Regions from separate parts of the Homo sapiens genome. Here all the other regions are linked to region 1. Evidence: promoter capture Hi-C in 16 types of primary human blood cells and fetal thymus (Javierre and others, 2016). All regions are on one chromosome and are shown on one strand. Each heading gives the region's core, a stretch centred on a gene start or on the middle of the fragment in contact. The rest is flanking DNA. Distances are from core to core; before and after follow the strand shown.

Region 1 (3,996 bases), core at 464-2,963:
GTTAGCCGGGCATGGTGACGCACGTCTGTAATCTCAGCTACTCAGGAGGCTGAGGCAGGAGAATTGCTTGAACCCGGGAGGCAGAGGTTGCAGTGAGGATCACGCCACTGCACTCCAGCATGGACAACAGAGACTCTGTCTCAAAAAAAAAAAAATGCACAAAGCAAAAAAAGAATGAAGCAACAAAAGCAGAAATTTTTTGAAAATGAAAGTACATTCCATGGTGTGGGGGCGGCCAAAGCATAGAGGCTCAGGGCCCCATTACAGAACTTGTGAGGTTTAAATACCCTCTAGGGGTTTCTACTGGTTACTTGGTGTACGCCCTATGTAAATAAAGAGGATGAAATAAAGTTACAAAATCATTTACTCAGTGTACACCCTATGGAGAGGGTATTTCCTGTCATAGCTGAAGTGTTCCCTGCCTCCAGACCCTGTTTTCCTGCCTCAATTCCTTTACTTTTCTAATAAACTTGCTTTCACTTTGTGGACTCGCCCTCAATTCTCTCTTGGGGTCTGGATCGGGACCCCTTTCTGGTAATATAGACAGAAAATACGGCCTTGACATGGTTGTCAGGAAACGACAGTAAGGCCTCCGAGGGTGGGGTTCTGAAGGGATGTTAAACGCCCCACCCCGAGGAAGGCTCTGGAGGCTCCAATCACTTTCAGCCTCTGCTACCAAGATGTCCGACCCTACCAATAAAACTTCCAGCAGCGGGGCGCGGTGGCTCACGCCTGTAATCCCAGCACTTTGGGAGGCCGAGGAAGGCAGATCACCTGAGGTCAGGAGTTCAAGACCAGCCTGACCGACATGGTGAAACCCCATCTCTACTAAAAATTTAAAAAGTTAGCCGGGCCTGGTGGCGCACGCCTGTAATCCCAGCTACACAGGAGGCTGAGGCAGGAGAATTGCTTGAACCAGGGAGGCGGAGGCTGCAGTGAGCCGAGATCGCGCCACTGCACTCCAGCCTGGGTGACACAGCAAGACTCCGTCTCAAACAAAACAAAACAAAAAACCTTCCAGCTTGGAGAAACTGAGAGTGAGCAGTAGGGAGTGAGGGGGTCCCTGGGAGGAACCAGAACTCATCCCGCTTCAGGGTGGGGCTGGCCCCCTTCTTGGCCTTGGCCGGGGCTTCGTGTCACGGAGCGCCCGAGGGACGGTCGGAGCCCACCCCAGCCCGCCCGCCGCCTGAGCCTGGCCGAGCTCTCTGCACCTGCACACGTCTGTAAAACGCGGATGAAACGCTTCTACGGAACCGGGTGGCTGAGATGAAGTGAGTTATGGGTATAAAGCGCTTAGAGCGATGCCTGGCGGACACTCGGTGCCAAATAAGCGTTCGCTGTGGCGACGATGACGCCTCCAGCCCAAAGCCCGTGGTCGAGCAGGGCCGGGCTCCCAGCGCTAGGGGGTTCCTAGGCGCGGCGCTTCGGGGGTCCTGGACACAGACACGGGGGACAGAGCTCCTACCAGCGACGATCCCGAGGGTCTGCAGCAGAGGGGCTGAGGCCCGGGACGGGGGTGGTCGCAGCGCCCTTTCCTGAAAAAACGGGGTTCGGCTCTAAGGCGCCCCCAAGCCCTGCCGGCAGCGCGGAACCCGAGCCGCTCAGAAGCCCGGGAGCCCCAAGTCTCCGGGACCAGAAGCGCCGCGGCCCTGACTTCCGGAAGGTGGACGGAACCCGCGGACGGGGCGGGCCCGCGTGGCGCACGCAGAGCCACTTCCGGGCGCGGCGCCGGCTTGGTGAGCGCGGGTACCCGCGGGCTTCCCCGGGCGGCTGCGTCCCCAGTAGCCCGGCCGGCCTCGGCACCGCGTGTCGTGGGGGTCCCGGGCCGCGGCTGCAGGGCCGGGGCGGCGGCGAGGCCGAGGGGCGGGAAGCCACTGCCCGGCCTGGCAGTGTGAACGTGCAAGTCGATCCCCTAACCCAGAAAGCCCCAGGCGCGGTCTCTATGGGCGGCCCCGCTCCTGCTTCTGTTTTATTTTTTTACGGACAGGGTCTCGCTCTACCGCCCGGGTTGTAATGCAATGGTGTGATCACGGCTCACCGCAGCCTCGACCTCCCGGGCTGAAGCGATCTTCCCGCCTCAGCCTCCTGAGTAACTGGGACCACAGGCGCGCCCTGCTGGTTTTTTTTTTTTTTTTTTTTGGTAGAGATGGGGGTCTCGCTATGTTGGCCAGGCTGGTCTCGAATTCCTGGCCTCAACGATCGTCCTGTCTCGGCCTCCCAAAGTGCCGGGATGACAGGCATGAGCCACCGCGCCTGGCCCCTTCTTTTGAATGGGCCTCCTTGCGTTTCCGTTTCAATGCCCCGTGCTACTTTTTTGGGAGCCCCAAGGCTGTACTGTTTGATTGACTCCTTTTTTTCCCCTTTCTTTTTAACCTAAATTAAAGCTGCCACTGCAGAGCCCCGCCATGGAAGACACGCCGTTGGTGATATCGAAGCAGAAGACGGAGGTGGTGTGCGGGGTCCCCACCCAGGTGGTGTGTACGGCCTTCAGCAGTCACATCCTGGTGGTGGTGACCCAGTTTGGGAAGATGGGCACCCTGGTCTCCCTGGAGCCCAGCAGCGTGGCCAGTGACGTCAGCAAGCCTGTGCTCACCACAAAAGTCCTTCTGGGGCAGGATGAGGTAAAGTGGATTGGCCGGGAACTGTGGCTCACGCCTGTAACCCTAGCACTTTCAGAGGCCTAGGCGGGCAGATCGCTTGAGGCCAGGAGTTTGAAACCAGCCTGGGCAACACAACAACACACACACAAGTCACTACAAAAAAACAAGTGCCTACACAAAATATATATATAGAGAGAGGCTGGGTGCAGTGGCTCACACCTGTAATCCCAGCACTTTGGGAGGCTGAGGCGGGCAGATCACTTAAGGTCAGAAGTTCCAGACCAGCCTGGCCAACATGGGGAAACCCCATTTCTACGAAAAATATAAAAATTAGCTGGGTGTGGTGGCACATGCCTGTAATCTCAGCTACTCAGGAGGCTGAGGCAGAAGAATCGCTTGAACCCGAGAGGCGGAGGTTGCAGTGAGCTAAGATCGTGCCACAGCACTCCAGCCTGGGTAACAGATAGAGACTTGGTCTTAAAAAAAAAAGGAAAAGAAAAGGAAACAAAAAATTAGCTGGGCCTAGTGGTGTGTGCCTGTGCTCCCAGCTACTTGGGAGGCTGAGGTGGGAGGATGGCTTGAGCCCTGGAGGTTGAGGCTGCAGTGAGCCATGATTGTGCCACTGCGCTCCAGCCTGGGTGAGAGAGCAAGACTCTGTCTTTAATAATAATAATAATAATAATAATAATAAAGTGGTCAGGAAGGGACCCCCAGGGAGGAGCATAAACCTCTCCAGTGGCTGTGATTTGTCAGTAAGGACATGGGGCATCTGGCGGACAAATACCCCTACAGCGATAGCATTTTCCGGGCATTTGTGGGTCTCAAGGCGCCCTGCTTGCCCTCAGTGGATGCTTTGTCCAGCCCGCAGGCATTTTATCCAGCAGACAAGCAGAAGCAGCAGTTTTGTCATTCGAGCCGCCTCCCCTGCCATGGTACATTACGTGAGCAGGCGGCTGGCTGTGCTGTGCTCTGTGGAGATCACACGTGAGATTCGACAGCACTCGCTTCTGCAGGCTTCTCTTTCCTGGGTTCTTTTAGATGAGAGAGAGCCAGAAGAGGCGGGGCTGCGGAAGGCGCTGGGAAAATGAATGGAGTGATGGTCTTTAGCAGTGTGCCCGTGACTGGAGTGTTCTGAGTGCTGCCAGAACTCTGAGTCACAGTTGCATGGACTTATGTGGCGGTTAATGGTGGTGTGGGAAGCCTGCCTGGGTTCCTAAGGGATACTTCATGAAAGCATTGAGGAAAAAACCAGGTTTCTTGCAGTTAAAATGGTTTCTTCTCCTTCCTTTACCAGCCTCTCATCCATGTCTTTGCAAAGAACCTGGTAGCGTTTGTGTCTCAAGAAGCTGGAAACAGAGCAGTCCTCCTCGCCGTGGCCGTGAAGGACAAAAGCATG
Region 2 (3,996 bases), core at 481-2,980, 980 kb before region 1:
TCTCAATGTTCTAGAGATTTCACTATATGATTTTGATGTTTTGGTATTTGAAGGTCTTCAACTGTGGCCTAGTTTGTAGTAGTCAGTTTTTCTTTTTCTTTTTTTTTTTTTTTGAGCCAGGGTTTTTGCGCGTCACCCAGGATGGAGTGCAATGGCGTGAACACGGCTCACTGCAGCCTTGACCTCCTGGGCAGTCCGCCTGCCTCATTCTCTTGAGTTCCTGGGATCAAGGTGTGTACCAGGCCCAGCTATTTTTTTTTTTCCCATAGAGATGAGGTCTCACCATCTTGTCCAGGCCAGCTTGGAACTCCTGGGCTCAAGCAGTCTTCCCGCCTGGGCTTCCCAAAGTGCTGGGATTACAGGAGCGAGCCACCATGCCTGGCCTGTATTTAAATTTTAAGAAGTATTTTTCAGTAGCTTTATTGAGATATAATTTGCATACCATGCCATTCTCCCATTTAAGGTGTACCAGATCCTTTTACAGTTTGTAAGCATGAGATATATATATATCTATATATAGATATATATATAGATATAGATTTTTTTTTTTTTGAGACCAAGTCTTGCTCTGTTGCCCAGGCTGGGGTGCAATGGCACAATCTTGGCTCACTGCAACCTCCGCCTCCTGGGTTTCAAACGATTCTCCTGCCTCAGCCTCCTGAGTACCTGCGATTAAAGGTGCATGCCACCATGCCCGGCCAATTTTTGTATTTTTAGTAGAGGTGGGATTTCATCATGTTGGCCAGGCTGGTCTCGAACTCCTGACCTCAGGTGATCCCTCCACCTTGGCCTCCCAAAGTGCTGGGGTTACAGTGGAGAGCCACTGCACCCAACCTAAGCATGATAATTGAGTGTTCAGGCGCATGTGTGAGATGTGGCACCATGGAACCCTGGTATGATGTCGGTACGTGACCCGTCTGACATGAGAAATGGACAAAATAAATAAATAAATGGTACCAATTCAACAGTTCTTAGTAAATTTACAGGGCTCTGAAATCATCAGCACAATCTAATTTTGTTCCCCCTAAAGAAACCGAGTCTGGGTTCACAGTGAGTCCCTGTTTCCTCCTCCCTCCCAGCCTCTGTCATTTCTCCTGCATTGTACTTGATGGAAAGAGTGTAGTTTCCACACTCGTTCATTAGTTCAGACCTGCTATGTTCTTGCTAATTTGTTTGCTTGTTTCTGAGAGGTGTGTAAAAAGCTTACACCAAGATCATGGATTCATGATTTTTCTTTGAGATGCATCCTTTTTTTTTTTTTCGCTTTACATATTATTTTTTTCTTTTTCTTTTCTTTCTTTTTTTTTTTTTGTTTTTTTTTTTTTGAGATGGAGTCTTGCTCTATTGCCCAGGCTGGAGTGCAGTGGCATGATCTCGGTTCACTGCAGCCTCGACTTCTTGGGCTCAGATGATTCTCTCACCTCAGCCTCCCTAATAGCTGGGACCACAGGAGCCCGCCACCACGCCCGGCTAAGTTTTTGTATTTTTTGTAGTGACGGGGTTTCACTATGTAGCCCAGGCTGGTCTCAAACTCCTGGGCTCAAGCAGTCTGCCCGCCTTGGCCTCTCAAATCGCTGCAATTACAGGTGTGAGGCACTGTGCCTGGCATTTTTTTTTTCTTTTTTTTTTGGAGACAGGGTCTCACTCTGTCACTCAGGCTAGAGTGCAGTGGTGTGATCACGGCTCACTGTAGCCTCAACTTCCTGGGCTCAAGTGATCCTCCCACCCCAGCCTCCTGGATGGCTGGGACTACAGGGACACACCACCACACCCAGCTAATTTTTTGTATTTTTTTGCGGAGACGGGGTTTCACCACGTTGCCCAGGCTGCTTTACACGTTTTGAAGTGAGGTTAGGTATACATAGATGTAGGAATGTTGTGTCTTTCTGGAATTTATCTCCGTGATCAGTTAACTTACTTCTGCATGAATACTGCTTTTTGCTTTACAGCCCATTTTGTTTGCTATTTCTGTTGCTACATCAGCTTCTTTAAAGTTAGAATTTGCCTACTGTGTCTTTTCTCTCCTGCTCCCAGCCTTTCCTGTCGTTGCATTTTATTGCTTTTAGAAACACCACATTGCTTGTTTTTAGTGTTTAATTTAATCTCAGCAACTCTTTCTTTTAACAGATAAGTTTGATCTCTTTAATTTGTTGAGGCGACTGTTAGATTTGAATTCTTTTGTATTTTTTAATTTCCTGTGCCTTACCTTTGTGCCTTTATCCTCCTTTTCTGCCCTCCATCAGATTGATAAAGCTTTTTTTTTTCTTTTAAATCTTTCCTCTTCTGGTTTTGAAGTTATACATTCTATTTATGTTCTTCTTTTTAGACAAGTTCTTGTGCTGTTGTCCAGGACAGTGGTGTAATCACGGCTCACTGCAGCCTTGACCTCCTGGGCTCAGGTGATCTTCCCATCTCAGCTTCCAGTGTAGCTGGGACTATAGATGCGCGCCACCATGCCCAGCGAATTTTTATAGAGAGGGGATCTTCCTGTGTTGCCCAAGCTGGTCTTAAAACTCCTGGGCTCAGGCAATCTGCCCACCTCGGCCTCTCAAGATGCTGGGACCACAGGCTTATTTGTGTTCTTCAGTGGCTACCCTTATATTTTTAACATGAGAACCGGATTTTTTAAAAAGTCTGAAGTTAATTAGACTTTCCATTCTCTATCCAGGCAACCGAAGGACCTCAGAGCACTTGAACTTCAGGCCATCACAACCTTCTATTATTGTCGTTAGTATTTTAATTCTGTTTTGTTTCAAAACCCTTCAACAATGATTTTTTAGATTTTGAACTCAGTGGCATTGTTTTTTGTTTGTTTGTTTGTTTGTTTTTGAGACAGAGTCTTGCCCTGTCACCAGGCTGGAGTGCAGTGGTGCGATCTCGGCTCACCGCAACCTCCACCTCCCGAGTTCAAGCAGTTCTCCTGCCTCAGCCTCCCAAATAGCTGGGACCACAGGCGCCCGCCACCATGCCTGGCTAATTTTTTATATTTTAGTAGAGACAGGGTTTCATTCACCATGTTTGCCAGGATGGTCTCAATCTCCTGACCTCGTGATCTGCCTGCCTTGGCCTTCAAAAGTGCTGGGATTACAGGCGTGAGCCACCACGCCCCGCCTTTTTTTTTTTTAGAGAGACAGGGTCTCCCTCTGTCGCCCAGGCTGGAGTACAGTGGTGCAGTGATAGCTTGCTGCAGCCTCGAACTCCTGGGCTCAAGCAATCCTCCCGTCTCAGCCTCCTGAGTAGCTGGGACTGCAGATGTGTGCCACCATGCCGGGCTAATTTTTTTTTATTTTTTGTAGAGACAGGGTCTTGCTATGTTGTTCTCCTGCCTTGGCCTCCCAAAGTGCTGGGACTACAGGTATGAGCACCTCACCCAGCCTGCAGTGCTGATTCAGGTGGACATAGTGCTTTTTGGGTCCTGGCCTGGTTCTCCTCCTCTGCATGCTCCTCACTCTCCTTACTGAACCACATTCTTTCCACAGGGGCTTCTCACTGGGAAACTCTCCCAACCTTTGCCTCAAAATGTCTTTTTCCCCCACTGGTGCTTTTGAGCGATAGCATAGCTGGTTATAGAAATACAGGATGCCAGTTCTGGAGAGGAATGTTTGTTCCATTGTACCTGCTTGCATGGAGCACTGTCTAAGGAAAAGTACCCATTTGGAAGGTGAAAATGCTCTTCCACTTTTTTTTTTTTTTTTTTTTGGAATGGAGTCTCGCTCTGTCGCCCAGGGCTGGAGTGTGCCGTGTGCAATGACGTGGTCTTGGCTCACTGCAGCCTCTGCCTCCCAGGTTCAAGCGATTCTCCTGCCTCAGCCTTCCAATTAGCTGGGACTACAGGCATGAGCCACCACACCTGGCTAATTTTTTGTATTTTTAGTAGAGATGGGACTTCGCCATGTTGGCCAGGCTGGTCTCGAACTCCTGAGCTCAAGTGACCACCCGCCTTGGCCTCCTAACGTGTTGGGATTACAGGCGTGAGCCACCACGCCCAGCCTGGTC
Region 3 (3,996 bases), core at 546-3,045, 840 kb before region 1:
GAGATACAAATAGTCAGAAAGCACATAGGAAAGTGCTCATCATCATTAGTCATCAAAGAAATGCAAATTAAAATGAGATAACTGGCCGGGCGTGGTGGCTCATGCCCGTAATCCCAGCACTTTGGGAGGCCGAGGTGGGTGGATCACCTGAGGTCAGAAGTTCAAGACCAGCCTGGCCAACATGGTGAAACCCCATCTCTACTAAAAATACAAAAATTAGCTGGGTGTGGTGGTGGGTGCCTGTGATCCCAGCTACTCGGGAGGCTGAGGCAGGAGAATCACTTGAACCCAGGAGGCAGAGGTTGCAGTGAGCCAAGATCACGCCACTGCACTCCAGCCTGGGCGACAGAGGGAGACTCTGTCTCAAAAAAAAAAAAAAAAAAAAAAAGCTAAAACCTGAAAACAACCCCAATGTACATCAGCAAGTGAGTGTAAAAAGGGTGAAGTGCTGATTCATGGGTGAACGCCACAGGTCGCACACTGAAAAAGGAGCCAGACGTAAAAGACTGCATGTTCTGTGGTTCCATTTATATGACATTTAAAAGAGGCCAAAATCGTGATGAAAATCATAGACTGCAGAGGAGCACGCAGAAACTCGGGGCGATGGAAATGCTCTACTGTTTGATTGCAGAGGCAGGTACAAGGTGAATATGTTTGGCCACGTTCCTCAAACTGCATACTTAAAATGGGTACGTTTTATTGCATGTAAATCATACTCAATACATTTGATTTAAAGTTAAAAAGAAAATGTTTGTGGTTTTATGAAGCTGATCTCCAGAGGCTAACACTTCTCTCTCTAATATGAATGCAATGGCCCAGCTCTCACCAATTTCCACAGTACAGAAGAAAACACCAGTGCAGAGTTCCGCACAGACACGGAGGGACTGGGAGGAAGAGGGAAGGGATACTGAGACCAAGTCCGGCCTCTGCTGAGTGGCCTGGGCCAAGTCATTTTATGTCTGACTTTCAGTCCATCTACAAAAGAAGAACAAACTAGGCCTTTCTGCTAACCAGAGCTACCGAGAGCACAAAAATGAGAAAACACAGCTAAGTGGTTGATAAAATAGTAAAGCACTTTCTTTAGAATCTGCCCCGGCCTTACTTATCTCTCTGTCTTCATCAGGCTCAAATATTTGTTACACAAATATGTGTTATTTTTATTATTACTCATGCTTTCTACCAAGAGCCAGTTATCAAGTCAAAAAAAAAAAAACTGTCTATTTGCAAATTGATTTTAAAATAACAATACCAATAGCTAACATGTTGTTAAAAGTGATGTTCTAAGGGCTTTGCACATATTACTTTGTTTAATCCTCACATGAACTGGGATGAAACTGGGAAAAGTAGCTACAGACTTGCACAAGTCTACATAGCTAGCAGTGTTTAGAGCTGGCCTCAGAACTCAGGCTGTTGTTGGAGAGCCCCCCTTCCTTGCCACTCTGCTCTGCTGGCCTCTACAGTATATGTTTAGGCAGAATTGGTAGGTTTCACTAGACAGTCAAATTTCTATTTCCTTTACTGCTGAGGGAAGTAGCTTCTTCGTGTCCAAATAACCAAGCTCTTGAGCACTAAATCAAGTGACATGACCTTCAATAAGAAGCGCAAGAATGTTTCAAGTTTATTTATTTATGCTACTGACACAAAGACCAGAAACTACCTACTTCTTTTCCAGCTTTACAGACACTATATAAGGCAAATAATTCACTGCAGTTCCCATCGCTGTAGTCAACAAAAATGTGGAAAGTTTCTGTTCCTGGTGTCAATATTTGCTCTCTGCATGTCCTGGGCTGCCTGGAACTTACACACAGTGGTACTACATTAAAACCTCCATCGTGAGACACATTTTCACGCGGTACCTCCAGGACTATGGTTTATTTGCTTATACAATTACTTCATTTGTGTTCAGTTAACTATATCTGACAGTATATCCAAATAAAAATATGTAATTAACGGTCACATTGATGAGAATGGAATGTTGATTTATATCCCAGGAGACCTGAATGAAAACTGAGCCCAAACTTAGCCTTTGAAGTAAAGTAACTTCCCTGCAGAGCCGGTCCTAGAGCACAGAGGCTATCAGCTCACCCTGTTCTCTTCCTTCCCGTCTCTAAGCCCTCTGTTGGCCCTTCCCAGGTAGACAGGAAATCCACGCACGTATACCAGTCCAATATTCCCAAACTGGGTTTCAAGTTCTTAGAAGACAGGGATCATATCTCATGTACCTTCTGTATTCCTCATAAGGCTCAAATATTTGTTGCATAGGTATTTGACTCTAGAATCCAAACGATAACTCACTTGACTCAACTGACTTAAGAGTTAAATCAATTCGTGGCTGGGCACAGTGGCTCACGCCTGTAATCCCAGCACTTTGGGAAGCCAAGCTGGGTGGATCACCTGAGGTCAGGAGACCAGCCTGGCCAACATGGCAAAACCCTGTCTCTACTAAATACAAAAAGTAGCTGGGTGTGGTGGCTGGCACCTATCATCCCAGCTACTTGAGAGGCTGAGGCAGAGACAATTGCTTGAACCCAGGAGGTGGAGGTTGCAGTGAGTCAAGATTGCCCCACTGCACTCCAGCCTGGCCAACAGTGAGACTCCGTCTCAAAAAAAAAAAAAAAAAAGAGTTAAGTTAACTCAAAGAAATTATTTCAGAAGAAAATGATAATAAATCTCACTATGATCAGTTTAAGAACCTGCTTGGGGCTTTACATGCAAAATATATCCAGGCTCAGCCAGGTGCAGTGGCTGATGCCTGTAATCCCAACACTTTAGGTGGCCAAGGCAGGATAATATTTTGAGACCAGGAGTTCAAGATCAGCTTGCGCAACATACCAAGAAGCCATCTGTACAAAAATTTAAAAATTAGCCAGGTATGGTAGTATACACCTGTAGTCCCAGCTACTCAGGAGGCTGAGGTGGGAGGATCTCTTAAGCCCAGGAGGCTGAGGCTGCAGTGAACTATGATCACACCACTGTACTCCAGCCCTCCAGCCTGGATGACAGAGTGAGATCTCATCTCAAAATTTAAAAATAAATAAATAAATAATTTAAAAAAGTAAATAGTTATCCAGGCTCTAACTTGTCAAGTCCCCTCTGCCCTACCTACACCCCACCCTGCCCCAATCACCATCAGCTCTCACCTGCGTTATTGCAACAGGCTCCAAACCAGTCTCCCTGCTTCTGCTCTCAGGCCCACACAATCCATTTTCAACCCCAAAGCCACGGTTATTCTATTAAAAGTTGGATCAGTGGCTTCCTATCTCGAGTCCTTCTGATGGCCCGTGACCAGGACTCCACTGATCTCCTCTTCTATCACAGTCCCCCTCGGCGACCCTCTCCAGCCTCAACAGTCTCCTTGCCGTTCATCCACCGCACCCAGCAGGCTCCTGCTGCTGGGCCTCTGCACCACCATCCCTCAGCTGGGGAATCCCAGGGCAGTCCCACGCTTCCTTCAGATCTCTGCTTGACGCTCACCTCCTCAGCAAGCCTTCCCTAACCACCCTGAGAAAGTAGATCCCAGTCTCTACCCTGCACTCCCCATACCCTGGTTTTCTTCATAGCAGCATTTATCCCATCCCTACCTCAAATCTTTTATTTATTATTTTTAGAGTAGTGTCTCACTGTGTCACCCAGGCTGGAGTGCAGTGGTGCAATCGCAGAATCCCTGAACTGCTGGGCTCAAGCCATCCTCCTGCCTCAGCCTCCCAAAATGTCAGGATTACAGGCGTGAGCCACCATGCCTGGCCTCAAATAGCTCATATACACCAGTTAATCCACTCACTGTCTTCCTGCACTGACTTAAAAGGGAGGTCCTCGTCCTGCCTCACAGCGGGTATTCTCAAGGCTTACAGTAGCATCTGGCACTCAGTACTTGCTCAAGAAAGAGGTGATGTTCTAACAAAAACCAGACAAACTCTGATTGCCTAATTTCTGAAACTTGGGGACAGGTGAAGGATGATGTATAATACTGCTCTCTCTACTGGTCGGTATGTTTTA
Region 4 (3,996 bases), core at 1,089-3,588, 800 kb before region 1:
TTCATAACTCAAGGAGAGTGGTCAACAGCTTAAAAAGTCTTTTTTTTTTTTTTTTTTTTAATGGGGCTAGGGTTTCGCTATGTTGCTCAGGCTAGTCTCAAACTCCTGGGTTCAAGTGATTTTTCTACCTCTGCCTCCTGAAGTGCTGGGATTACAGGTGTGAGCCACTGTGCCTGGCCTAAAGTGATTTCAAGTGTCAAGGCAGGCCCCACCGCAGTGACATCTGAACATACCTGGACACAGGCTGTGATCAACATATCCTGATTCGAATGCGAAGATTTCTAACTCTAGACACTTGCAGTAACATTTGGGAAGTTGATATTCCTACAAATTCTGTATCTCATTAAACAAAATTACCCGCGTTTGGTTTCACAGGCTCTATTGGCATGGACTAGTTCAAGTATCAGTGCCTCCATCAATGTTTTTACAAGTCACTAAATACTGAAAGTCCTTGACAAACTTAACCAGCAGTTTTGGAATACGAGTTGTGGGTAACGCGGCAGCTGGACTCAACCACTGACCCCAAAACAGATCTTAATGTCTGCGGTTATGGAACTCTGTTCAGACTTCAAAGGAAACGACTCCTCTCTGCAGACATTCTCACTCCTTTTCAGGGGTCCCTGGGCCCAGGGTAAGACCCCCCACCTCCCCGCAACCATGAGCAGGGGCTGCTCCTGCACTCGGCGCCACCTCTTCTACAACCCAGAATCCTCCTCCTCCTGCCACTAACACCAGCCAAGGCTTCTGTTCAACACAGAGGCTTGGTGCCCCTTCCCTGAGGTCCCAGGACAGCACCAGAGTCAGCAGCTAGCCAGCACTCCCTGCTTCTATCCACAGTCAAAACTATGCCCCACAGGCCTGCACCTTATGGCTCCACCAGGACACAGAGGTGACGACGTAGCGCCCAGTAGGATCCCATTCGACGTCGGAAGCCATGTAGTGCTCTGCGATGTTCATGACCGTGCAGTCCGAAGTGTCCACAAACGCTAAGGCACCGTTCATACTGCAAAGACAGACAGGACCGTCAGGCTTCATGGAGACGCATACCTCCTGGCATCCCACTCCTGAGAGGTGCTGCGGCATGGGGTCCCCAGGGAGCCAGCCTCGGCGTTAACATGGAAACAAGCACAGCAACAGCCTCTGGTGGCCGCTGTGAGACTTACCAAATCACAGATGCAGAGTGTGCAGTGAGTATTACATATGACTGCCATCATATTATTTTTACTGGAAATGTTATCTGAGGCTAAGTAAGCCTCCAAAAATACAGTAGCAAGTGTGGACAATGAAGCAAGGGAGAGCAGCAACAAAAGGGTATTCTTTTAACTCAGAGCAGAAAGCTGGAAGCTTCTCCATGATTTCGACACACTGCTGGAACACAGCTGAGACCGACACCGTGACACCAACCACAAAGGTAAGGCAGCCTCACAGCTGTGTAACGAATACCCTTCCCACTAGAAGACAAGGGACTGACCCCCGGGGGGAGGTTACTGGATGGCTGGAAGGCACTTGTTTAACCACAGAGAACCACAACCCGCAGACAGGTCTGCCTGGTCACTTCACGAAAGCATCTGGGAGCGCTTATTTCACTCTGTGCGGGCTTGGCCTGAGTCCTGGAGTACCGTGGGTCTGCAGAGGTTCAATGAAGTCCTATCCACTGACACTGGGGCAACCCTTTCAGCGCACAATACTCTCTCTACCAAGAAGCCGGGTGCAGGCGCCTGAGGGGTCTCTGCCACAGCAGAGCGCTACTCACAGGGCGGACAGGCTCAGAGCGCAGACACCTACCTCCTCAGGCCCGCCAACACCACGAACTGTCCTTGGGGGCTCCAGAAGATGGTGTTCGCCTGCTGCTTGTCGAACATCTCTGAAAGGAAAGAGCGCGCCTGTCACGAGCTGCGAGGGCTTCCACAGTGCCGGGGCAGCCAAGGCTGGAGGACTTGGCCGTGCTCATGCTGCCCATGAGGGCAGAGCTGGTAATGCTGGACCACCTCGGAAAACAATTTTACAAAGTCCATCGCCAAGTACCCCCTAAGTCATGATCCATACTTTAAATGGGAAAAAAAAGAAGATGCGACAGGGGTATTTCAAAACAATACTATCTTATTTCCTGAGGTAACTGGACAAAGAATTCCCTTTACAGCAAATGTTCACTGCTGCAGGGACCCCAACAGAGAGATGTCAGAGACGTGTGACCCCAAAAGACCAAAGCCACTCTCCTAGCGACAAGGCGTCTTTGGATAAGCTGTATGCTTGTTGAAACTGACTACAGTCATCATCTTTGCAGGTACTAACTCTTACTTCCGGAATGGATCTCGGGCAGAGCCGCTGGAACAGTGAGAAGTGAAGGCCAGCTGGGGCTGGCTCAAGTCCCCCTCAGAGCATATGCTCCCTGCATCTCAAACAGAGCTGACAACCTGTGGCCTCTCTCCCCTCAGCCTGTGGTACATCCAAAAAAGAGGCATGGGGCAGGCTGACGTGGGGAGGAGGGGAGGAGATGTGGGAGGGCAGTGCACCCTGGCAGGGGCAGGGGTCTCAGACTTGCACAAGCGAAAACCCCAACAGCCACGGGCATGGGATGGAGCCCATGCGGTGGCCCCAGCGTCCATGCCAAACCTCAGGAGAGGCGTGTCACGCAGCATGTTTGGAAGGTACAAGGTGCCTCTGCTTGCCTATGTTTTATGACCTAGAAGACTTACACAAGTCTCTGGACAGTCTGCAATTGCCCATATGTTTCTATCAACCAGAATTAATGAAACAGCCAATCTTGTAATCCACTGCCAACTGAGGGCACCACGCACCCTGCCAAGCTCTAGCAAAGTGAAAACTAAACTCCTCACAGAATCATGCTGCGAAAGGTGCGGCCAGGAGATTCCAACCCCTTCCTGGTACAGAGCCAAACCCATGGCTCTGCAGGAGGGCAGCTGGCAGCCAGAGTCCTGTGTGAGGAACACAGCCCATCGCCACCTCCTGGCTACCACACACACACACCCCACGCCTATGAAGCAACAAGCAATGGCTCATTCAATCCCCGCGGGCACCGGGCTCTGTGCTGAGCAGAGACCCCAGGATGAAGTGAGGAGCTGAGGGCACAGGCAGCAGGTGCCGTGAGACAGGCGAGGGCCCACGCACCACTGTGAGGAGCGAGCCCCAGGTGGGTGCAGTGTGGCACCCCTGGAACCGGGTGCACGGGGGCAGAGTACAGCTGTGTGCAACAGCTCTGCGCACCCTGGTCAAAGGCACCTGACCCAGACTGGGGACTGGCAGGAGTATGTCCACAGGAAGTGACCCCAAGCCCAGGGACAGCAGCTACAGCCAGAAGAGAAAAAGCTTCACTTGAGATGATGGCAGAGAATGGAAGCCTTGGAAATACTCGCTTAAACGTGAGGGCTCAACGGGGCTCAGAGAGACACCCTGCAAGGAGGCGGCACCTCCAGGCCATCGCTCACTTCCATCAGCCGAGGCCACACCCCATTCATAGGCGAGTCCCGGCCTGCCCAGCAGTGGTCCTAGGCCAGTCAAATGCTCACTGTTGGGCAGCGACTGGGTCATCATCTGTGCTGACCTACTCAGAAGAGGAAAGGGACCAGGTTACTTACTGATGAGTTCAATCTTCCCGTTGTTTTTGACGTGGTAGAAAGACACAGATATCCGCGGAGCCTCTCCGTGCAGCACAGCAAACTTACTTCCATTTGGTTCCCAGGCAAAGGCTATGATGGTTTCTAAAATGCACAAAACAGACCCCTCCCTTTTTGGTCAATTCAGAACATAGTGCTCTTGATCAGTTAAAATGTTCACTATTCAACCACAGAGAAATATCCCCCGACGTGTAAAAGTTCATTAAAAGGACGGGAGAGCAAGCAACAGCAGGAAAGGTGCACATTCCTGGAGTTTCAGAGACAGCTGCTTCCACTTGTGTGGAGTGACCTACGTGAAACTGCTCCCTTCCTGAGAGCAGGACACCCACAGCAGGACCGCAGGAGCCCGACATTGTCAGCA
Region 5 (3,996 bases), core at 638-3,137, 750 kb before region 1:
GCAGCACCTTTAACGTCTGTATTGTTACCAAGAGTCTGTTTGTGACCATTTAGGCATCCTCCCAGATGATTTAGGTTTTCTATACCACGTTCCTCATTTCCTTCTAAAAGTCCTCACTAGCAGAGTTTTTAACTTCCCTATTTCTAGTAACAACCAATTCCAGGAAACCTAAGCTTTTTCTGTATCCACCTCAAAACTTTTCCACTGCCGCTGGCGTGATGGTGCATGCCTACAGTCCCAGCACTTTGGGAGGCTGGGGCAGGAAGATTGCTTGAGCCCAGGAGATTAATGCTGCAGTGAGCTCTGATTGCACCACTGTGCCCTAGCCTAGTCAAGAGAGCAAAACTCTGTCTCTAAAAAAATTTTTTTATAAAAGCAGTGGGCCAGGCATGGTGGCTCATGCCTGTAATCCTGGCACTTTGGGAGGCCAAGTCAGGAGGATAGCTTGAGACTGTCCTTGAGACTGGCCTGGGCAATACAGTGAGACACCATTCTACAAAAAATAAATAGCCTGTAGCTGGGACTACAGGCGTGTGCCACCATGCCTGGCTACATGGCCAATGCCTGCAGTCCCAGCTACGCAGCAGGCTGAGGAAGGAGGATCTCTTGTACCCAGGAGACGGAGGCTGCAGTGAGCCATGATCCTACCACTGCACTCCGGCCTGGGTGTGATAGCAAGACCCTGTCTCAAAAAATTAAAAAAAGGAAGAGTGTTGAGAAGAAATTGGTAGCTTTATAACACAGGGCAAATGCCCACAAGGGTTGTGAGAATGGTGTCTTGCAGCCTAGGCTAGGATCTCAGCTCTGGGATCTTAGGGTGTTGAACTTTTCTGGTCTTGGTTGCCTGCAAAGTACTGATCATACCACTTCCTAAATTTTTTTTATTCTTAGTTTATTTTTATTTTTATTTTTTTGAAAAATAGGTCAGTCACAGTGGCTCACTCTTGTAATCCTAGCACTTTAGGAGGCTGAGGTGGGCAGATTGCCTGAGCTCAGGAGTTCGAGACCACCCTGGGCAACATGGTGAAACCCTGTCTCTACTAAAATACAAAAAATTAGCCAGGCGTGGTGGCGCATGCCTGTAATCCCAGCTACTTGGGAGGCTGAGGCAGGAGAATTGTTTGAACCTGGGAGGTGGAGGTTGTAGTGAGCCAAGATCACACCACTGCACTCTAGCCTGGACGACACAGTGAAACTCTGTCTCAAAAAAAAAAAAAAAGAAAGAAAGAAAATAGAGATGGGGTGTCACTACGTTGCCCAGGCTGGTTTTGAATTCCTGGGCTCAAGTAACCCTCCTGCCTTGGCCTCTCAAAGTGCTATGATTACAGACGTGAGCCACTGCCCCCGGCCAGGATGAGATACATTCTTTTTTTATAAATTCTTTTTTTTTTGAGATGGAGTCTTGCCCTTGCCACCCCAGGCTGGAGTACAGTGGCGTGATCTCAGCTCACTGCAACCTCTGCCTCCCAGGTTCAAGCGATTATCCTGCCTCAGCCTCCCAAGTAGCTGGGACTAGAAGCATGCACCACCATGCCCAGCTTATTTTTGTATTTTTAGTAGAGACGGGGTTTTACCATGTTGGCTAGGCTGGTCTCGAACTCTTGATCTCAGGTGATCCACCTGAGGTTGCAGTGAGCCGAGATGGTGCCACTGCACTCAAGCCTGGGCAACAGAGCAAGAGTCGGTCTCAAAACAAAAACAAAAAACCAAGAAGACTCAGTTCCTAGTACGCATTCAATACGTGTTAGCGTGGTTAGTGTTTGGTGCTGTCCTGGCTTCTGGCGTGCCAGGCACGTGGTAGTACTGCACTTCTGGTCCTTCTGAGGTTGAGCGAGACCACATCACTGGTCCTGGCCAATGCGTTGTGAACAGCAATGAGTCTTACTTCTGGGCCATATCATTTAGCGGCTCCTGCAGCATCCTCCAGATCCTTTCTCTCTGTTAACATGGCAGAAATGCAGGATGGTGGCCGCTCTGTGATCCTGGGTCTCTGCATGCCGGTGACAGACATGAACCCCTTTGTGACTTTAAGCCTCTGGGATTTGAGATTGTTACTGCAGCATGATATAGCCTATCCTAAACAACTCATTAGCCATTATTAGTATTTCTAAGATACGCTAAACAATGCATTACCCATTATTAGTTTTTTTGTTTGTTTGGTTGTTTTTTTTTTTTTTTTTTTTGAGACAGACTCTCACTCTGTCGCCCTGGCTGGAGGGCAGTGGCACAATCTCAGCTCACTGCAACCTCCACCCCCAAAGTTCAAGCGATTTTCATGCCTCAGCTTCCCGAGCAGATGGGATTACAGGCACCTGCCATCATGTCCAGCTAATTTTTGTATTTTTAGTAGGAATGGGGTTTCACCGTATTGGCCGGGCTGGTCTAGAACTCCTGACCTCAGATGATCCACTGGCCTTGGCCTCCCAAAGTGCTGGGATTACAGGTGTAAGCCACCATGCCTGGCCCACACCATTTATTTATTTATTTATTTATTTAGAGACAGAGTCTTGTTCTGTTGCCCAGGCTGGAGTGCAGCAGCAAGATCTCGGCTTACTGCAACCTCTGCCTCCCAGGTTCAAGTAATTCTCTTGCTTCAGCTTCCCGAGTAGCTGGGATAACAGGTGCCCACCACCACGCCCGGATTTTTTTTTTATTTTTAGTAGAGACAGGGTTTCACCATGTTGCCCAGGCTGGTCTTGAACTCCTGGCCACAGGTGATCCACATACTTCAGCCTCCCAAAGTGCTGGGATTACAGGCGTGACCCATAGCACCTGGCCTACAGCATTTATTTTATTTTATTCTATTTTATTTTACTTTTGAGATGGAGTCTCAATCTGTCACCCAGGCTGGAGTGCAGTGGCGCGATTATGGCTCACTGCAACATCCACCTCCTGGGTTCAAGCGATTCTCCTGCCTCAGCCTCCCGAGTAGCTGGGATTACAGGCGTGCGCCACCACACCAAGTTAATTTTGTATTTTTAGTAGAGATGGGGTTTCATCATGTTAGCCAGGCTGATCTCGAACCCCTGACCTCAGGTGATCCACCCGCCTTGGCCTCCCAAAGTGCTGGGATTACAGGTGTGAGCCACGGCGCCCAGCCAGCATTTATTTTTAAGTGATGGGGTCTTGCTCTGTGGCCCAGGCTGGAATACGGTGGCACAATCATAGCTCACTGTAGCTTCCACCTCCTGGACTGAAGCACTTCTCCTGCCTTGGCCTCCCAAAGCACTGCAATTATAGGCGTGAGCCACCACACCAGCATTTTAGTAACTGTTTCTGAAAGGTCCTTAGCAGGTCCTTTCTGCACGTCCTCCTGTGTAGTTAAATTCTGACTCCGATGCTCTGCATGCTAAGTTCTGTCCATTTGCCCAGCTAGTTCCCATTTTCCTAAATGAAAAGCACTACATGTGAATCAAAAAAACAGATTAACCATCGTGATATAACTGGGTTCTTGCTACTAAGCAAAATGTTTTAGAATTGAGAAATTCGAGGCCGGGCGCAGTGGCTCACGCCTATAATCCCAGCACTTTGGGAGGCTTAGGCGGCAGATCACCTGAGGCCAGGAGTTCGAGACCAGTTTGGCCAATATGGTGAAAGCTTGTCTCTACTAAAAATACGAAAATTAGCTGGACATGGTGGCGGGCGCCTGTAATCCCAGCTACTCGGGAGGCTGAGGCAGGAGAATTGATTGAACCTGGGAGGCAGAGGTTGCAGTGAGCCGAGATCCGAGATCGCAACATTGCACTCCAGCCTGGGTGACAAGCGTGAGACTCTGTCTCAAAAAAAAAAAAAAAAAAAAGGCCGGGCGCGGTGGCTCACAGCTGTAATCCCAGCACTTTGGGAGGCCGAGGAGGGCGGATCACAAGGTAAGGAGATCGAGACCACAGTGAAACCTTGTCTCTGCTAAAAACACAAAAAATTAGCCAGGCGTAGTGGCGGGCGCCTGTTATTCCAGCTACTTGGGAGGCTGAGGCAGGAGAATGGCATGAACCTGGG
Region 6 (3,996 bases), core at 1,042-3,541, 670 kb before region 1:
GAAGCACGTGCCAGGGGCCAGGAGGAAGGGGACGTGCTCTGGGAGGCAGTGGGGGGCGGGGGGGTATGCTGTAACTCCCCAGCCCTGCCACGTGTGGCTTCCCTTGTGGCAGGTGGAAAACTGCCATTGAACCAGTGATTTTCTGGGGTAGAAACAGAACCCAGTGGTCAGCAGGGCTGATCAAGCAGAGCAGAGGCCGGCGCTACCTTCCTTCTCCACAAGTCAGTACTCAGGTGCAGAGGACAACATCACCTTTCCAGAGCGTGCTCTTGCTCCTGCGTCTACCCCCAGGAACCCCCTGCTTATAGGCACACAGTGAGGAACAACAGTCCCCGTGCCTGATTGGCACCAAAATAACCACGCAGTTTATCCTGTGGTCCTCAGGTCAGGCCTTTGGATTAACAGGAACTTCTTTCAGTCTAGTGGGACCTGGCCTCTCTGTAGCAGGCTTCCAGATTCCCAGGAAATGTGTGGCTGTAGACACAGGTCCACCCAGCCAGGCCCGGCTAGTCCTCCCTCCTGTGATAGGAGTTTATACCCCACCCACTCTGCTCCTGCTGTGGCTACTGTGGGACCTGGCACCCAGGGGGGCCACTGGAAGTCACAAGGGTCCTTCCTGCTCCCATAGGTGTGCAGGTCCAGGTCCAGAGGACTCTGAGGGCGATGCCTCCGCCAGGTCCCTGCTGAAAAAAGGACCCTGGAGAAATGCTGGAGGGCCAGGACCAACTTTCCTTTATTTATTTTGAGACAAGATCCTGCTCTGTTGCCCAGGCTGGAGGAGAGTGGCGTGATCGCGGTTCACTGTAACCTCCGCCTCCCTGGCTGAAGCCATCCTCCTGCCTCAGCATCCCACATAGCTGGGACCACAGGCATGAGCCGCCACACCCAGCTAATTTCTGTATTTTTAGTAGAGATGGGGTTTTGTCACGTTGCCCAGGCTGGTCACGAACTCCTGAGCTCAAGCGATCCACCCACCTCAGCCTCCCAAAGTGCTGAGATTACAGGCGTGAGCCACTGCGCCCAGCCAGGACCAACTTTTCTGGGGTCCACACCTGGACAAGACACAGGGTTCAGGACCAGTGATCCTTCTTGGAAGTTGTGGTGTCTGAGAAAAGGGACCAGATGATAAGGAAGGGGGCAGGGAAGTGCTGGGTAGAGGAGGGCGTGGTCTCTGGCCAGGGCTCCACACCCAGGCCTGTGCCCAGGGACCTGGGTGAGGACAGGCATTTCTGTTTTTTTGCCCAAATGTTGCATTTCCCGAGCCCGCCACGTCCCCGTCCTGTGCCTATAAAAAAACCCCAGTGGTTTTTTATAGTGGGCAGAGACACAAGCCGCTGGACGTCAAGAGGACGTGGAAAGCACACCAACAGGCACCAGCAGGCCATCAACTGATGGAACCATGAGTTTGGCAGGGGCGGTCAGAGGAGAGCCCAGGCTGCTCAGCAGCCCGACTCCAGGGGAAAATCACCTTCCCACTCCAACTGCCTTCTGGCTCCCCCATCTGCTGAGGGCTAATTCCACTCATAAAACCTTGCACTCACTCTCCAAGCCGCCGTGTGATCTGATTGCTCCAGTACATCAAGGCAAGAAACCTAGGGATACAGAAAGCCCTCTGTCCTTGCGATAAGGCAGGGAGTCTAACAGCTGACTAACACAAGCCACCTACAAGGCTAAACTGAAAGAGCACCCTCTAACACATGCCTGCTGGGGCTTCAGGAGCTGCAAACATTCACCCCTAGACACTGCCGTGGGGTGGGAGCCCCTCAGCCTGCCTGTCTGTATGTTCCCCTAGAGGCTTGAGAAGCGGGGCACTGAAGAAGTGAGCCACATCCTCATCGCACGCCCTTCGAGGAGGACAAGGGAACCTTTCCCATTTCACTGAGACTGGGTCCTGGTGGCGGAGGCAGGTCAGACAGGGTAAATGGGTTTGTGGCTTAGTTTCACACCAGGCCCGTGTACTTTGTCCCGACACTGATCTGTTTCTGCCAGAAGCCACGGTTTCCAAAGTAAATTTTTGTGATTTACTCCTGGTCTCCCCCAAGCCTCCGCCCCGCTCTCCTTGTCTCTCTCCCAAACCCCCGGCCCCGCTCTCCTCGTCTCCCTCGAGCCCCCGACCCTGCTCTTCTGGTCTCCTTCGAGCTCCCGGCCCCGCTCTCCCCCAAGCCCATGGCTCAGCTCCCCTAGTCTCCTGCCGCCCGCTGGCCCGGCTCCCCTCCCTGGTCACCACGACTCCTGGAATCCCCGCGCGCGCTTTTCGTACCTGCACCGCCGCTTCCGGGGGCGTGGCCTCTGACCGGAAGTGAGGCCAGGCACTTCCGGCGGCGCGCTGCAGGCGCGGGGAACACCAATGGCGGGGTGAGCTGGGCGCTGCTGCTGCGCGTGCAGACAGCGGGAGTGGTTGGGGGTCCGCCCGGTCGCCTTCCTCGGTCCTGGCCTCGGGGCTGGGTGCCGAGCGCTGGGCACCGTCCCCGCACTCAGCGAGCGCGACAGGGGCGAGGCCAGGATTCCGGGTCGCAGTTCCCCGGGAGGAGGGCGCCCTCAGGTCTCCAGGGGCAGGGCCGGCGGGGCCGTGGGGAGGCCGGGGCCGGCGGCGGAGTCCAGGTGGGGGGCGCAGCGCCGGGGCCCAGATCCAAGGCGCCGGGGGCGAGCCCGGGGCGGGATTTCGCTTCTGGGCCGGGTAGCTCCATTGCCCGCGCTTCCTGGGCTGTCGAGTGGGCCCTGGCCCCCGGGACCGGCTTGTGCCATTTTCCCGGGAGACCCCTTAAGCGAGGGGAAGACAGCGACTCACGGTCAGCAGTCAGTGCCTCCTGGCTTGTCAGCACGCTTTGGTGTTGCAGAAGCTAGAAGCTTTGGCCTTGGAGCCATGAGGGTGGTAACTTTTATTTATTTATTTAAATCAGAAAGATGGACATAGAGACCGGGCTTGGTGGCCCACACCTGTCATCCCAGCACTTTGGAAGTCTGAGGCAGGAGGATCGTTTGAGCCTAGGAGTTCGAGACCAGCCTAGGCAATGTAGTGAGATGCCATCTCTAAAAAAGGTTTTTAAGAATTAAAAAAAAAAAAAAAATTAGCCCAGGCATGGTGGTGCACACCTGTAGTCCCAGCTACTCAGGAGGCTGAGGTGGGAGGTTCACTTGAGACCCAGAGGTTATGGCAGCAATCAGCTGTGATTGTGCCACTGCAACTCCAGCCTGGATGATAGCAAAACAAAAATGGCCGGGTGAGGTGGTTCACGCCTGTAATCCCAGCACTTTGGGAGGCCAAGGTGGGCTGATCGCCAGAGGTCAGGAGTTCGAGACCAGCTCGGCCAACATGGTGAAATCCCATCTCTACTGAAAATAGAAAAATTAGCCGGAAGTGGTGGCACACACCTGTAGTCTCAGCTACTCAGGAGGCTGAGGTGGGAGGTTCACTTGAGCCCCAGAGGCTGTGGCTGCAGTCAGCTGTGATCATGCCACTGCACTCCAGCCTGGGTAATAGTAAAACCCTGTCTCTAAAAAAACAAAAAGAAGAAAGAAATGCCTGGGTGCAGTGGCTTACACCTGTAATCCCAGCACTTTGGGAGGCCAAGGCGGGCAGATCAGCGGAGGTCAGGAGTTTGAGACCAGCCTGGCCAACATGGTGGAACCCATCTATACTGAAAATACAAACATTAGCCGGACATGGTAGCAGGTGTGCCTGTAATCCCAGCTACTTGGGAGGCTGGGGCAGGAGAATTGCTTGAACCCGGGAGTCGGAGGCTGCAGTGAGCTGTCACTGCACTCCAGCCTGGGCGCCAGAGTGAGACTCCGTCTTAAAAAAAGAAAAAGAGGACATAGAACTTCCTTGGTGAGGTTGTTGTCAGAGTTAAACAAGGGGAGGTGTGTATAGCTTCCACCTGCTTAGCTATTGTGGGCTGTGAATAAATTGTTACATTTATTGTAACAATTGTCTAGAGAATCTTGGAAATTGTCCTTCAACGATTGACACAGGTTTAGTTCAATTTTATTTAAGAC
Region 7 (3,996 bases), core at 424-2,923, 620 kb before region 1:
GACAAGGACCGTCCTCTGGGCGGGGACGCTTTCTCTCCAGGACGTGGTGGCTGTCGGAGCTGGGTGGCCCTTGTCTCACCCCGGTTGCTTGGGCAAGTGAGTATGCTGGGGCGTGGCTTGGGCCGATGGTTTGTGAGCCTGCACCTGTCAGCCTCAGTTTGGGCTCCCTGTGGGGCGTGTGAGTCCCTGTTCTGACTGAGGGTTGGGTTAGGGTTTCCAGCCTCCCTGCCCCTGGGAAGAGGCTCCACCCTCCTCCACGAGTGCTGAGCTCCGGGTCTATTTGTACTGTGAGGAGTTGCTTTTGTCTCCATCAAAAACATGAACCACTGTTTGGAGCACTTCCATTTACTGACAACCCTTGCCAAATTAATTTTATTTAATTATCTCCCAGGGCTAAGCTTGAATACATTTTGTGTTAAGTTCACAGTTTTTTCCTTTTCTAAACGAAATGGACTTAATATCCTTGTTAAAATCTGATTAAAACTAAAATTGAGTTTTTTGAAGTCTGATTATCCCATGAAATGGAATTTTAAACCTAATTACAGATGGATTTGCATATACTTTTCAGCACCATTGAAAAGAAACTTGGTATAAATTTATTAATGACATCCTTTTCTCTCGTTTCCTTGGGGCATGACGTTAGTTTAGGAGCATGAGGGAGGTGGGGAGAAACACCACCCTTCTCCCCGCCCTTCCTTAGAATTTTTTAAAAAACTTTACTCTGTGGAGAATCAGTTCCCTAGGAGCCTGGGGCATAGTCACACTTTCATTCTCATCTTTGCTGCTTTACCGGCTTAGGTGGCTGATAGTTTTCCTGAATTGTTTTTCAATACTCAGAGCTCTTGTCTTTCGGAAGATGGAAGAGGAGCATGCACGATCATAGCTGCTGGTGTGTCTTCCCTGTCAGCTTAAAACGCAGATTTGGCCGGGTGTGGTGGCTCACGCCTGTTATCCCAGCAGTTTGGGAGGCCGAGGTGGGTGGATCACCTGAGGTCAGAAGTTCGAGACCAGCCTGGCAAACATGGTGAAACCCTGTCTCTACTAAAAATAACAAAAATTAGCTGGGCGTGGTGGCATGTGCCTGTAATCCCAATGACTTGGGAGGCTGAGGCAGGAGAATCGCTTGAACCCAGGAGGTAGAGATTGCAGTGAGCCGAGATCATGCCATTACACTCCAGCCTGGGCAATCAGGACAAAACTCCATCTCAAAAAAAAACAAAAAAAACAAAAAACCCCATGGATTTATATTTAACGTGCTACCTCCACCCTGATTTAATTTTAGTTTTTAATTTTAAGTTTTATTTTATGTATTTTTTTTTTTATCGAGACAGAGGCTCGCTCTGTCACCCAGGCTGGAGTGCAGTGACGCGATCTCAGCTCACTGCAACCTCTGCCAGCCGGGTTCAAGCAATTCTTCCGCCTCAGCCTCCCGAGTAGCTGAGATTACAGGTGCCTGCCACTGCGCCCGGCTAGTTTTTGTATTTTTAGTAGAGACGAAGTTTCACCATGTTGGCCAGGCTGATCTCGAACTCCTGACCTCATGATCCGCCTGTCTTGGTCTCCCAAAGTGCTGGGATTACAGGCGTGAGACACCGCACCCGGCTTAATTTTTTTTAATTTTTTTGAGACAGAGTCTTGCTTTGTGGCCCAGGCTGGAGTGTAGTGGCACAATCATGGCTTACTGCAGTCTCTGCCTCCTGGGCTCAAGCCATTCTCCCACCTGAGCCTCTGGAGCAGGTGGGACTACAGACACTTGCCACCACGCCCAGCTAATTTTTGTATTTTTAGTAGAGACGGGGTTTCACCATGTTGGCCAGACTGGTCTCGAACTCCTGAGCTCAAGTGATCCGCCTGCCTCAGCCTCCCAAAATGGTGGGATTACAGGTGTTAGCCTCCACCCTAGTTTTAGATACATTTGTATTATTAAAAAAGTAAAAACAAACTCTAAATGACCATTAGGTGAAATAAACAAGAAATTTCCAAAGGGCCATGTTCCTGTTCTTTGAGAAATCCCACTTTTCCAGGAGGGCTGTTTGCTATTGTGTCTGGACTCATGCTGCCTGTTGCGACTTCCTAGTGGCAGGTGGAGGTAACAGGCTCCCAGCGTACTTGCCCTCAGTCTGGCTGTCACCGTGGTTTTGTTTCGTCTGGAATTATGTGGGAATGGAATCATACGTCATGCAGTCATTTGTGTCTGGTGATTTCACTGGCAGAATGTTTTCTGAAAAGCATTCATTCACATTTGTTGCTTGTATCGGTTGTCCTTGTTATATCGAACGGATATACCATAATTTTTAATCCGGTTTTTTGCTCTTGCAGATAAAGATTCTGTGAACATTTGTATTGAAGTCTCTTTATGTATGTTTTCCTGTCTCTTGGGATAATACCTAGGAGTGGGGCCTCTGGGTGATATGGTATGTTTTAATTTTAGAAAAAGCTGATGAGCCAAAGTGGCTGCCTAATTCTGTCCCCTGGCCACCCGTGTGTGAGAATTCCGCTGGCCCCACATCCCGAGCTCTTTCATTGAATTCCGCTGGCCCCGCATCCCGAATGCATTCATTGGCCACCTTCACTTTAGCCATCCTGGTGGGTGTGTGCGGTATTTCCTTGTGGCCTTCATTCCTGTTGCCCTGGTGACTAATGATGTTGAACATCTACTCATGTACTTAACTTGACGGCCATATATCTTCTTTTGTGAAGTGTCTTTTCAAAGTCTTTTCCCCATTTTTTAATTGGACTGTCATCTTCTGAGTTGGCAGAGTACTATATATATTCATGACAGAGTCTTTTGTCAGATGTATGGTGAATATTTTCTCCCGGTACGTGGCTTCCTTTTCATTTTCTTAGTGTCTTTTGAAGGGTAAAAACTTTTAATTTTGCTAAGTCTGATTTATCAATTCATTTTCTTTATGGTTTGTGTTTTTTGTATCTGCCTAACCCAAGCTTTTAGAAACTTTCTAGCTTTAACTTTACTGTTAATTTTGAGTTAATTTTTGTGTGTAGTGTGGTCACAGTTGAGGGTCGCTTTCCTGCCCCACAATACGTATGTCTGTTTCCCATTTGAATTTCCTTGGCACCTCTGATGAAAGCCTGTCAGCCATACATTCATGGGCCTTTGCTCGAGGTCTTCTTTCATTGAATCATGTGTCTGTCCTTTCTCCAGTATGGTAAGGTCGTAATTACTGTCACTTCCTAATACTCTTTGAAAGAACATAGTAAGCCCTCCAGCTTTTTCTTTGTAAGAATTGTCTTGGCTATTTTAGTTTTTTTATTTTCAGATAAATTTTAGATTTAGCTTTCAGTTTGTTTTCTTTCCCCCCATTTACTTTTTATTTCGTTTATTTTTTCTTGCCTTAGTGCACTCACTGGGACCTCCAGTGCAGTTTTACCTGGGCATGGTGAGAATGGCTGTCCTGGCCTTGTCAGCCTTAGAGGGAAAGCGTTTAGATTTTCCTGAAGCATGAGGTTAGTTTTAGGGTCTTGCGAGATACTGTTCATCAGGTTGAGGAGGATGCTTTTCTTTTCCCCGATTTGTTGTATTGGGTCAAATACATATACAATAAAATTGACTGTTAACTGTTTTTAAGTGTACAGTTCAGTAGCTTTAAGAACATTCATATTGCTGTGCAACCATCACCACCATCCACCTCCAAAACTTTATCTTCCCAAAGCCAAACTCTGTACCCATTAAACGCTCGCTCCCTGTGCTCCCCCGTTGGCTCTAGGACCCACCATTCTGCTTCCTGCCTCTGTGATTTTTTACTACAGTAGGGACCTCATAGAAGGAGAATCATGAAATATTTGTCCTTATGTGACTGGCTTATTTCACTTAACATAATGTCCTCAGGGATCATCCATGTTGTGGCATGTGCCAAAATGTCCTTTCTTTCTAAGGCTGAGTAATATTCTGTTGTATGGATAGACGATCCGTTCTTCTTATCCAGTCACCTGTTGATGGACACTTAGGTTGCTTCCACATTGTAGCTACTGTGAATA

Evidence for each region. Contacts are between HindIII fragments. The CHiCAGO score rates a contact against its expected background, and 5 or more counts as called.
Region 2: a contact is called between a fragment that was not itself captured here and the fragment with the promoter of PSMG3 in region 1, in 1 of 17 cell types (total CD8 T cells). The highest score is 5.0, in total CD8 T cells.
Region 3: a fragment that was not itself captured here is called in contact with the fragment with the promoter of PSMG3 in region 1 in 1 of 17 cell types (non-activated CD4 T cells); the score reaches 5.4 in non-activated CD4 T cells.
Region 4: a fragment that was not itself captured here is called in contact with the fragment with the promoter of PSMG3 in region 1 in 1 of 17 cell types (naive CD4 T cells); the score reaches 6.8 in naive CD4 T cells.
Region 5: a fragment that was not itself captured here is called in contact with the fragment with the promoter of PSMG3 in region 1 in 1 of 17 cell types (total CD8 T cells); the score reaches 5.0 in total CD8 T cells.
Region 6: a contact is called between the fragment with the promoter of NUDT1 here and the fragment with the promoter of PSMG3 in region 1, in 5 of 17 cell types (fetal thymus, M1 macrophages, M0 macrophages and 2 more). The highest score is 8.9, in fetal thymus.
Region 7: a fragment that was not itself captured here is called in contact with the fragment with the promoter of PSMG3 in region 1 in 8 of 17 cell types (M1 macrophages, M0 macrophages, M2 macrophages and 5 more); the score reaches 12.1 in M1 macrophages.

What each region holds. Positions count from the first base shown.
Region 1 is chr7:1,567,749-1,571,744 of GRCh38, reverse strand. PSMG3 (proteasome assembly chaperone 3) reads left to right here and starts at 1,713. Exons shown (of 2, transcript NM_032302.4): 1 at 1,713-2,621; 2 at 3,895-3,996. The coding sequence starts at 2,406. PSMG3-AS1 (PSMG3 antisense RNA 1) reads right to left here and starts at 1,672. Exons shown (of 5, transcript NR_027329.1): 1 at 1,466-1,672. RefSeq lists enhancers at 662-711, 722-791, 1,415-1,983, 3,690-3,996 and silencers at 1,092-1,171, 1,612-2,041. The HindIII fragment of the contact is 7,479 bases long and covers 1-3,996 here.
Region 2 is chr7:2,547,797-2,551,792 of GRCh38, reverse strand. All of the region lies in intron 2 of BRAT1 (BRCA1 associated ATM activator 1), which reads left to right. It also overlaps the pseudogene LOC124901849. Among named protein-coding and RNA genes, the nearest start is that of BRAT1, 5.7 kb to the left of the region's middle. The HindIII fragment of the contact is 1,051 bases long and covers 1,205-2,255 here.
Region 3 is chr7:2,410,116-2,414,111 of GRCh38, reverse strand. All of the region lies in intron 1 of CHST12 (carbohydrate sulfotransferase 12), which reads right to left. Among named protein-coding and RNA genes, the nearest start is that of CHST12, 8.5 kb to the right of the region's middle. The HindIII fragment of the contact is 9,344 bases long and covers 1-3,996 here.
Region 4 is chr7:2,372,396-2,376,391 of GRCh38, reverse strand. It overlaps EIF3B (eukaryotic translation initiation factor 3 subunit B), which reads right to left. Exons shown (of 19, transcript NM_001037283.2): 12 at 3,597-3,719; 13 at 1,786-1,864; 14 at 865-1,003. Among named protein-coding and RNA genes, the nearest start is that of EIF3B, 20 kb to the right of the region's middle. The HindIII fragment of the contact is 1,983 bases long and covers 1,347-3,329 here.
Region 5 is chr7:2,321,517-2,325,512 of GRCh38, reverse strand. It overlaps a transcript of SNX8 not described here. Among named protein-coding and RNA genes, the nearest start is that of SNX8, 9.1 kb to the right of the region's middle. The HindIII fragment of the contact is 3,424 bases long and covers 176-3,599 here.
Region 6 is chr7:2,240,521-2,244,516 of GRCh38, reverse strand. NUDT1 (nudix hydrolase 1) reads right to left here and starts at 2,291. Exons shown (of 4, transcript NM_002452.4): 1 at 2,261-2,291. It overlaps MRM2 (mitochondrial rRNA methyltransferase 2), which reads left to right and starts at 2,312. Exons shown (of 3, transcript NM_013393.3): 1 at 2,312-2,355. The coding sequence starts at 2,348. RefSeq lists a silencer at 2,386-2,605 and an enhancer at 2,928-3,779. The HindIII fragment of the contact is 10,591 bases long and covers 1-2,849 here.
Region 7 is chr7:2,189,359-2,193,354 of GRCh38, reverse strand. The region is part of intron 10 of MAD1L1 (mitotic arrest deficient 1 like 1); the gene reads left to right. Among named protein-coding and RNA genes, the nearest start is that of MAD1L1, 42 kb to the left of the region's middle. The HindIII fragment of the contact is 2,545 bases long and covers 401-2,945 here.